Regions from separate parts of the Homo sapiens genome. Here region 1 is linked to region 2. Evidence: promoter capture Hi-C in human tissues and cell types (Jung and others, 2019). All regions are on one chromosome and are shown on one strand. Each heading gives the region's core, a stretch centred on a gene start or on the middle of the fragment in contact. The rest is flanking DNA. Distances are from core to core; before and after follow the strand shown.

Region 1 (4,839 bases), core at 431-2,930, 47 kb before region 2:
GACACAGTCTGGCAAATTGGATAAAGAGTCAAAACCCATCAGTGTGCTGTATTCAGGAGACCATCTCATGTGCAAAGACCCACATAGGCTCAAAATAAAGGAATGGAGGAATATTTACGAAGCAAACGGAAAGCAAAAAAAAAAAAAAAGCTGGGGTTGCAATCTTAGTCTCTGATAAAACAGACTTCAAACCAACAAATATCGAAAAAGACAAAGAAGGGCATTACATAATGGTAAATGGATCAATGCAAATAAAAGAGCTAACTGTCCTAAATATATATGCACCCAATACAGGAGCACCCAGATTCATAAAACAAGTTCTTAGAGAGCTACAAAGAGACTTGGACTCCCTCACAATAAAAGTAGGAGACTTTAACACCCCACTGTCAATATTAGACAGATCAACAAGACAGAAAATTAACAAGAATATTCAGGACTTGAACTCAGCTCTGGACCAAGTGGACCTAATAGACATCTACAGAACACTCCACCCCAAATCAACAGAATATACATTCTTCTCAGCACCACATGGCACTTATTCTAAAATCGACCACATAATTGGAAGTAAAACACTCGTCAGCAAATGCAAAAGAATGGAAATCATGACAAACAGTCTCTCAGACGACAGAGCAATCAAATTAGAGCTCAGGATTAAGAAACTCACTCAAAACCACACAACAACATGGAAACTGAATAACCTGCTGCTGAATGACTACTGGGTAAATAACCAAATTAAGGCATAAAGAAGCTCTCTGAAACCAATGAGAACAAAGACACAATGTACCAGAATCTCTGAGACAAAGCTAAAGCAATGTTTAGAAGGAAATTTATAGCACTAAATGCCCACAGGAGAAAGCATGAAAGATCTAAAACCGCCACACTAAAATCACAATGAAAAGAACTAGAGAAGTAAAAGCAAACAAAGTCAAAAGCTAGCAGAAGACAAGAAATAACTAAGATCAGAGCAGAACCAAAGGAGACAGAGACAAGAAAAACCCTTTAAAAAATCAATGAATCCAGGAGCTGGTGTTTTGAAAAGATTAACAAAATAGATAGACCACTAGCCAGACTAATAAAGAAGAAAAGAGAGAATAATCAAATAGACACAATAAAAAATGATAAAGGTGATATCACCACTGATCCCACAGAAATATAAACTACCATCAGAGAATACTATAAACACCTCTATGCAAATAAAATGGAAAATCTAGAAGAAATGGATAAATCCCTGGACACATACACCTTCCAAAGACTAAACCAGGAAGAAGTCAAAACCCTGATTAGACAAATAACAAGTTCTGAAATTGAGGCAGTAATTAATAGCCTACCAACCAAAAAACGCCCAGGACCAGATGGATTCACAGCCAAATCCTACCAGAGGTACAAAGAGGAGCTGGTACCATTCATTCTGAAACTATTACAAACAATAGATAAAGAAGGAATCCTCCCTAACTCATTTTATGAGGCCAGTGTCATCCTGATACCAAAACCTGGCAGGACACAATAACAAAATATTTCAGGCCAATATCCCTGACGAACATCAATGCAAAAACCCTCAATAAAGTACTGGCAAACTGAATTCAGCAGCACATCAAAAAGCTTATCCACCACAATCAAGTCAGCTTCATCCCTGGGATGCAAGGCTTGTTCAACATATGCAAATCAATAAATATAATCTATCACATAAACAGAACCAATGACAAAAACCACATGATTATTTGAATAGATGCAGAAAAGGCCTTTGATAAAATTCAACACCGCTTCATGCTAAAAACTCTCAATAAGAAAACAAAAACGGGACCCCTTCCTCACACCTTATACAAAAATTAACTCAGTATGATTAAAGACTTAAACGTTAAACCTAAAACTATAAAAACCATAGAAGAAAACCTAGGCAATACCATTCAGGACATAGGCATGGGCAAAGACTTCATGACTAAAACACCAAAAGCAATAGCAACAAAAGCCAAAATTGACAAATGGGATCTAATTAAACTAAAGAGCTTCTGCACAGCAAAATAAACTATCATCAGAGTGAACAGGCAACCTACAGAATGGGAGAAAATTTTTTCCTAACTTCATTTTTCTGTTGCAGGATTCCATCCCAGATATCACATCACATTTATTTGTCATGTCTTTTTGGGCTCCTTTGGTTGTGAGTCGCCCCTACTTTCCTTCATTCTTCTTTATGGCTGAATAGTACCCCTTTGTGTATATAAACCACATTTTTTTATTATACTTTAAGTTCTGGGGTACATGTGCAGAACATGCAGCTTTGTTACATACGTATACATGTGCCATGGTGGTTTGCTGCACCCATCAACCTGTCACCTACATTAGGTATTTCTCCTAATGTTATCCCTCTCCTAGCCCTCCACCCCCTGACAGGCCCCAGTGTGTGATGTTCCCCAACCTGTGTCCCTGTGTTCTCATTGTTCAACTCCCATTTATGAGTGAGAACATGCAGTGTTTGGTTTTCTGATCTTGTGCTACTTTGCTGAGAATGATGGTTTCCAGCTTCATCCATGTCCCTGCAAAGGACATGAACTCATCCTTTTTTATGGCTGCATAGTATTCCATGGTGTATATGTTCCACACTTTCTTTATCCAGTGTGTCATTGATGGGCATTTGGGTTAGTTCTAAGACAGGTCTTTTGAAATTATCCAATCAGAGGAATGGTTTTTAAAAAGGAATAAAAAAGAGTAAAGAAGTCTTATAGGACTTATGAGACACCATTATGTGAAACTCCTGACCTCAAGTGATCCACCCACCTTGGCCTCCCAAAGTGCTGAGATTACAGGTGTGAACTACTGTGCCTGGCTGGCTGTAATATATTTTATGTAATTTTCATGGTAATCACCAAGAATAAAACCTGTAGTAGATAATAAAAATATTAAGAGAAAAGAATCAGAGCATACCACCACAACAGAATTCCATTAAAATTAAAGTATCCTGCTCTATGAAAGAAGTTGTTAAGAGAATAAGAAAATATACAATAGGAGTAATATTTACAAAACACATACCTGAGAAAGTATTTGTTTCCAAAGTAGACATAGAAACTTTTTTTTATTATTATACTTTAAATTCTGTGGTACACGTGCATGTGTTCTCATTGTTCAACTCCCACTTATGAATGAGAACATGTGGTGTTTGGTTTTCTGTTCTTGTGTTATTTTGCTGAGAATGATGGTTTCCAGCTTCATCCATGGCCCTGCAAAGGACATGAACTCATCCTTTTTTAGGCTGCATAGTATTCCATGGTGAATATGTGCCACATTTTCTTTATCCAGTCTATCATTGATGAGCATTTGGGTTGGTTCCAAGTCTTTGCTATTGTGAACAGTGCCACAATAAACATACATGTGCATATGCCTATATAGTAGAATGATTTATTCCATGGTGTATATGTGCCACATTTTCTTAATCCAGTCTATCATTGATGGACATTCGTATAAACCACATTTTTTAATCCATTCATCCATTGATGGACACTTAGGTTGATTCCATATTTTGCCTATTGTGAATAGTAGCTCTAACTCACTTTTTCCGTTATAAAAACCATGAGTTCTTTTTCACATGTAATACTTTACCAGCTTGGGGAAAGGGCATTGTGGTTAAAAAGACTCATCTTCCTTATGATCTGCTCCTGATTTGTCTTTGCTCTGTGCCCGAGGGATCATCACAGCCCCGGTTTTAAGCTCTCAGATACTCTGGGTAATATTACTGCCGCTGAATAGTTGTTGACTGGCTTTCTGTGGGGAAGAGTGGATTCCAATTACTTCTACTTTGTCATTTTACTGATGTCACTCTCCCTGACTACATTTTTAATCATTAAAAATGTGTGAAAGATTTCAATTGAGGGCCTTATACACAATACCTGATCGGTAATTCTCAAAACTGTCAAAATCATCAAAAATAAGAAACTTACCCAGTGACTTCACTCAACAGAAGGCTGTAGCCTGAGTCTCTGTTTGTGGAGCCCAGGCTGCAACCTTGCCTGAATGCACAGTTCAGCCACTGGCAGAAGCCAGCCATGGTGCACAGCCTGGAGCCCCACCTGACCAAGAGCATTTGTGGAACCCAGCCTACCTTTCCAACCAATTGTAGAGTCCAACCAATGGCACCACCCAGCCAAGGAGCACAGCGTGCAATGCACTCAGACAAGGATTGTCGATCCCTGTGAAGGACTCTTCCTGACTGCAAAGTCTAGTCAGAGGTTCCACCCAACTAGGGAGCCAAACAGTAGCCCTGCCTTAGCTTGAAGCCCAGCCAGAACCCATCTCACCTCAAAGCATGGGGAGGAGCCCCACCCACCTAAAGAATCTTACAGCAAGCTCCACCTGCCTACATATACTAAGAGCTGGCCTACCAAGAACCCCAGGATGGACTAACTGACGGAGGTCTATCCCTGCCAAAGTGAACCCATAAAGGCTAGAAGAGGTAGCTGCTTCCTCAGATGTGCAAACACCAGTGCAAGGATACAAGGATCATAAAAAATCAGGGAAACAATACACCATCAAATGAAACTAATAAAGCTCAAATGACTGATTCTAAAGAAACAAAGATCTGTTAACTGACTGACAAAGAATTCAGAATAATCCTCTACAAGGAGTTCTGTAAACAAGAAAAAATTGATAGACAACTAAACAAAATTAGGAAAATACATGAACAAATCTAGAAGTTCAACAAAAAAAATCCATTTATTAAAAACAGAAATTCTAGAGATAAAGAATAATGATTAAACTAAGGAGTTCAATAGAGAACTTCAACAGCATACTAGATTGAGCAGAAGAAAGAATCAATTAACTTGAAGACAGGTTTTTATGTTTGTGTGTATT
Region 2 (4,908 bases), core at 2,169-4,668:
CTTATTTTTGTCATGTATTTTCCCTTTAGACTCGATTCCCCTCATTTTGAAGACTGCAGAAATGCAACAAAATTTTTTTATGCAGGAGCTGTTACAGTATTTTCAAGTAAGAAGTCTTTTCAGTGTATCTAATCTACCATACTGCCAGTAGTGGATGTCTCAGGGTTATTTTTTACTCTGGGTTCGTGGCTATGCTCCTAATAATTGAGCTTGCCAAGAGTTGAAATTCCCAGACAAATGGAGCATGACTTAAATTATTTAAAATTTAGAACATCAAAGTTAGAACACTTAAGCCCAGGCATGGCGGCTTATGTTTATAATCCCAACACTTTGGGAGGCTGAGGTGGGAGGACTGCTTGAGCCCAGGAGTTCAAGACCAGACTGGGCAACATAGGGAGACCCCACGTCTACAAAAAATGAAAATAAAAAATTAGTGGATGTGGTCACATACACCTGTGATCTCAGCTACTCAGGAGGCTGAGGTAGAAGGATTGTTTGGGCCTGGGAGGTTGAGGCTGCAGTGAGCAACGATAGCACCACTGCACAAGACCCTGTCTAAAAAAAGAAAAAAAAAGAAACCTTCATTTAGACTTTCTTGATCAAAATGGACCCTGTGCCAGAACTAGTTTGCTCAACTGATGGACACACTGTGTTGACTATGCTGATGAGATCATGTGATTGTTAGGTTTGCTGTGCCCACAGGGTGCAAATAAATCTTACTGAATAATGACAATGCTATAAACTCACACATAAAGGCTAATATATAGCTATAATCACAAATACTTAGCTAGTATGGCTGAATTCCTCAGATTTTACTATAACTTGATTTATGATAAGGAGGCTATTCAAGTGAGCATTGACATTATTGGCCTGCTATCATGAGCTTGGGATTCTGATGTTTATTATTCTATAATTTATCTTTTTGAGGACAGATATTATCTATTCATATAATTTGTTCTTTGAATATCACTATGTCTTGTTTTCCCCAAAACAGAAAGTGATACTAACTGCTAATGGATCAGGTTTTGTGAATAAGAGGCTATATAAAGTGAAAAGGCTATAGAAGTGAGAAATGTTTACAAGGCTATACTCTCATTAAGTAGAGTAAGTGTTTAGTAAATATCTTAATTGAAAACATTAATTTGGCAAGGTAATGAATTATAGCCTATATAAAAAACAATCACACAGTTATGAAAATGTGTTAAAATTAGGGTTTCTGACCATTTTTAAGTAAATTATGTTCTTGATTTAAGAATTTTATATTTAACAATGGTTTCCAAGATGTACACAAAAATTACAGTAGAAGCTAAGAAAATGTCTGTGCCCTCCCCCCATCACATAGAACTAGGTAATTAGTACTTTCAGTAAATAAATTCCCTTCAATTAGCCAGAATTATATTGAATTGTGCTATATAGTAAATAATATATTCACATGAGGTTTTATAGTATTACTGCTAAAAGTATGGGTCCTACCAACAGGTGACTGGAATGAAGGGATGAGCTGATTCAGGCAAGGATCAATAAAAAACACTTGCGCAGATTCGAAGTTACTATCGAGTGAGAATCAGTTTGCACAAGTCTTTCATCTCAGCTCTGCATGAAGCACTCCTTGGAACCTCCTTACCAACTGTGGCTTTAAGAATAGACTACATTCATTCACTCTTATTTAAACACATACATTATATCCCTGTGTACATGTCAATCATTTCAGTTTCGGTGCAAAAGGCTGGATATTCACACCAGATAAGTCAAAGTTAAAACATATTAAATGAAATGGTATTTCAAAGCTTGCATGCTCTACCTTTAAAAACCAGTGAGCCAAAGATGTTCCTATTATTTATAATTATTGATTTCTGAAAGTTTGTGTTAATACATTTCAAAGATTAACATTGAAAAGCCTAACAGAAAGGAATAACGATTCAACTTTTTGGCAATGTAAATCTATTGCTAGGGCTCGATATCATGAATAAATCTTAACTAATTTCTTTGACATCTTGACATTTCTTATTTCTCCAAAAATTACATTTTCATAGAAAATATATTTATACTTCAAATAGACTTATGATGGTATTTAATTGCACTTAAAAACTCATGCTCAAAATTTCAGTACCAGAAACTAGCATCCATCATCTCGACAGCAAAACACAAAACGTAAGAAAAACTAATCATTCCTTTAAGTGAAATAAGGCAATTTTTACCTAAAAAGACCTTGAGGTTAGTGAGGGAAAAAAAGATGCTTGAAATGTAAGAAAAGATCCTGAAGTATTTCTTTTCATCTTTATTCTCTCTGTTGCTTTTTCTTTTGATTTGAAAGATCAGATGAGACCACATATAAATATGTCTGGGAGGTGTCTTAGAGAACTTAACTCACTTCTTAAAAAGAGAAAAGAACTAAATACATTATGTGATAAATAAAGTATTTTTTATTGTACATTCTGTTTGAATCCTTGTTCTCTCAAAGGCTAGAATGAAAGAAAGAACAAGGAAAACCCCGTGTTTTATGATTTGTGACGATAATAGTCACCACAAGGTAGTTTTTTTCAGTGTTGTTAGGACACAGTTAACGACAACATATAAGAGAATCTGCATCGTTCAGTCACAAAATCTTCTCTTCAAATCAGAACTACAAACTGTATTCTAGATAGATATTTCCCTGTTAGTAAAATATAAACTCAGACATGGAAATTCTACATCTTTTTGGAGAAGTCTTAATGATTACACTAGGATCAACAGAATCCTACAACCAAAAGTCAATTTTTATACTTTTAACTTGTACTAACTATGCTGTTGAGAAAGCTGCTTTCAGGATGTAAGAACTAAATTATAATTAGTGTTTTCTAATAGGTGTGCAATACAGAGCTGGAAGCAAGAATAAAATTATTCACTTCAAGAAAAAGGAATATGATTATGCGGGAAGTATGTGAAGTGAAAATATTGTATGAATGTTTTACAGTAATTATTTAACACAATGCCATATATTTAAATTATCTTTTCATATGTCATTTGAAAACATTTAGGTACATTTGAATAGAAGTGGGTGTTCTTTGTGTATCTGTCAATAAGTAGTTTTTTACATTTGTTTATTGCATGAAAATATAATTGTAAAGGGTTTCATAGCCTATTCAGTGTAAGCCTATATCCTTCATATTTGAGAACTTCGATGTTTGGATTTAAACAGAGCAAATTGTACATGCTTTGGAGGAAAAAAATTTTTAAGTGATTAAAAAATATTTCTTATCAGATAATACCAAAGTCCTATTATACCTTCTTTTACACACCATAATGAATTAGTGATCAAGAACACAACTGTAGATTTAAACTAAAAGAAACAAAAAAGAAAGAACAAAAAAGACAGGCTGCATAGTGACAAGAATCCATCTCCCTTCATGCCAGTGAGGTTCTAGCTGTGAGCATGCTCAGAACATGGGAGGCACTGAACTTACTACATCAGAACTCCTGCTGAGGTATAAGAGGATACGTCTAATAACTCAATTGCTGTAAACCTATGATTGTTTTTCTGGTTTTTAAACATCTCTTCAGCCTCAGATTGATTACAATGTTCTTTCTACTTCATTTCATCGTTCTGATCAATGTCAAAGGTAAGGTTGCTACTTTCTCGTTTTAAATGAGTGCAATTCCCAAAAAATACATTTCTATGTAGTTCTATGGCAGTTGTAATAAATATATTGGGGTGTTTAAAAAAAAAACAGACATCAAATTTGCCTGGTATTTGTCATTATCTTTCATTGCTTGTAGTCCCACACAGCCTAGTAATTTTTAGATGCAACAAATTTTTCATGGAAACAAGCCTTTGTATGTTATTAAAGCTGTAGATAAAATATGTCAAAAAACAATGTTGACTATATCAATTAAAACATAGAAAACATTTTTGGCATTTGTTCTGAAAAGTGTGACAAATTAATAAACTAAAATTGTGTTTTGTGGAATTTCAACCTGTTGAAATATGCCCATAAAATTCAAGTAATTATTAGTAACTATCTTGCGTGAACATAATTAAACTGGGAACTCCAAAGCCACAGGCAGATCTAAAAAACAGTATCTGTCTCTAAGAGTAAACCTCTCTAAAATAAAGTTATTAAAAGTCTATACAAGTGCATTTACTTAGATAATTTTCTTTTGTTTTTAATTTGTGGAAATTTTTATTTCAGTCAAACTCTTAAGTTTCAAGTCAGTACCATTTTCATTGTAAAGCTCACCAAAAAATAAAACCTAAATCTTCACTTGTTTTTAAATAAAAAGATACGTTGTCAGCCTATACATTCATAAACAACCTATTAACCACACCCAAGATTTGCTGGGGTTTATTATTATTCAAAAATGTTTCTATTTTAATTTGTATTTTTTCTTAAAGAATTTTGATAAACCTCTGAGAATAAAGGTTAAAATTTGAAATTATTTTTATTTTCTGAGAAATTCGTTTTAGGTTTTTTAAATATTCAGTTTTATTAGGTGAATTCCAAGTGAATATTTTAAATCTTGAAATAAAATGCAATACTTATGAGGAATTATTTTAAAACTTCTAACAAACAAAAGATTTTTAAAAGGCTTAAAATATCTAAATTTTATTTTGAATTTAAAATAATACTAAAACTTTACTACAAATATTTAAAATCTATATCTCCATGCACCTAGCATGACTTTTATTTTATATTTTAATATCTCTTACATGAAAAGCTAAGGATTAACTAAGAAGAAACAATATATGAACTCACCTTGCATGCAGTACAGTTGCAACAAGCAGTCTATTTCTATATTTAAGGTCCTACTTCAGAAGTTCATGTTCTATCCACATTTGAATATTCAATTTTATACAATTTTAAGAATATACAGCTACAAAGCAGGTTCTTAAGACATGTCATAGAGCTCATCTGTGCCCTTAAAAAGTTC

What was found. The method cuts DNA at HindIII sites, captures the fragments that hold promoters and counts their contacts. A contact is called where the count stands out against the background at its distance.
Region 1: a fragment that was not itself captured here is called in contact with the fragment with the promoter of RXFP2 in region 2 in 1 of the 25 tissues and cell types used here (bladder).

Annotation. Positions count from the first base shown.
Region 1 is chr13:31,690,849-31,695,687 of GRCh38, forward strand. No RefSeq gene overlaps it. Among named protein-coding and RNA genes, the nearest start is that of RXFP2, 46 kb to the right of the region's middle. The HindIII fragment of the contact is 7,438 bases long and covers 1-4,839 here.
Region 2 is chr13:31,736,108-31,741,015 of GRCh38, forward strand. RXFP2 (relaxin family peptide receptor 2) reads left to right here and starts at 3,419. Exons shown (of 18, transcript NM_130806.5): 1 at 3,419-3,599. The coding sequence starts at 3,506. The HindIII fragment of the contact is 13,582 bases long and covers 827-4,908 here.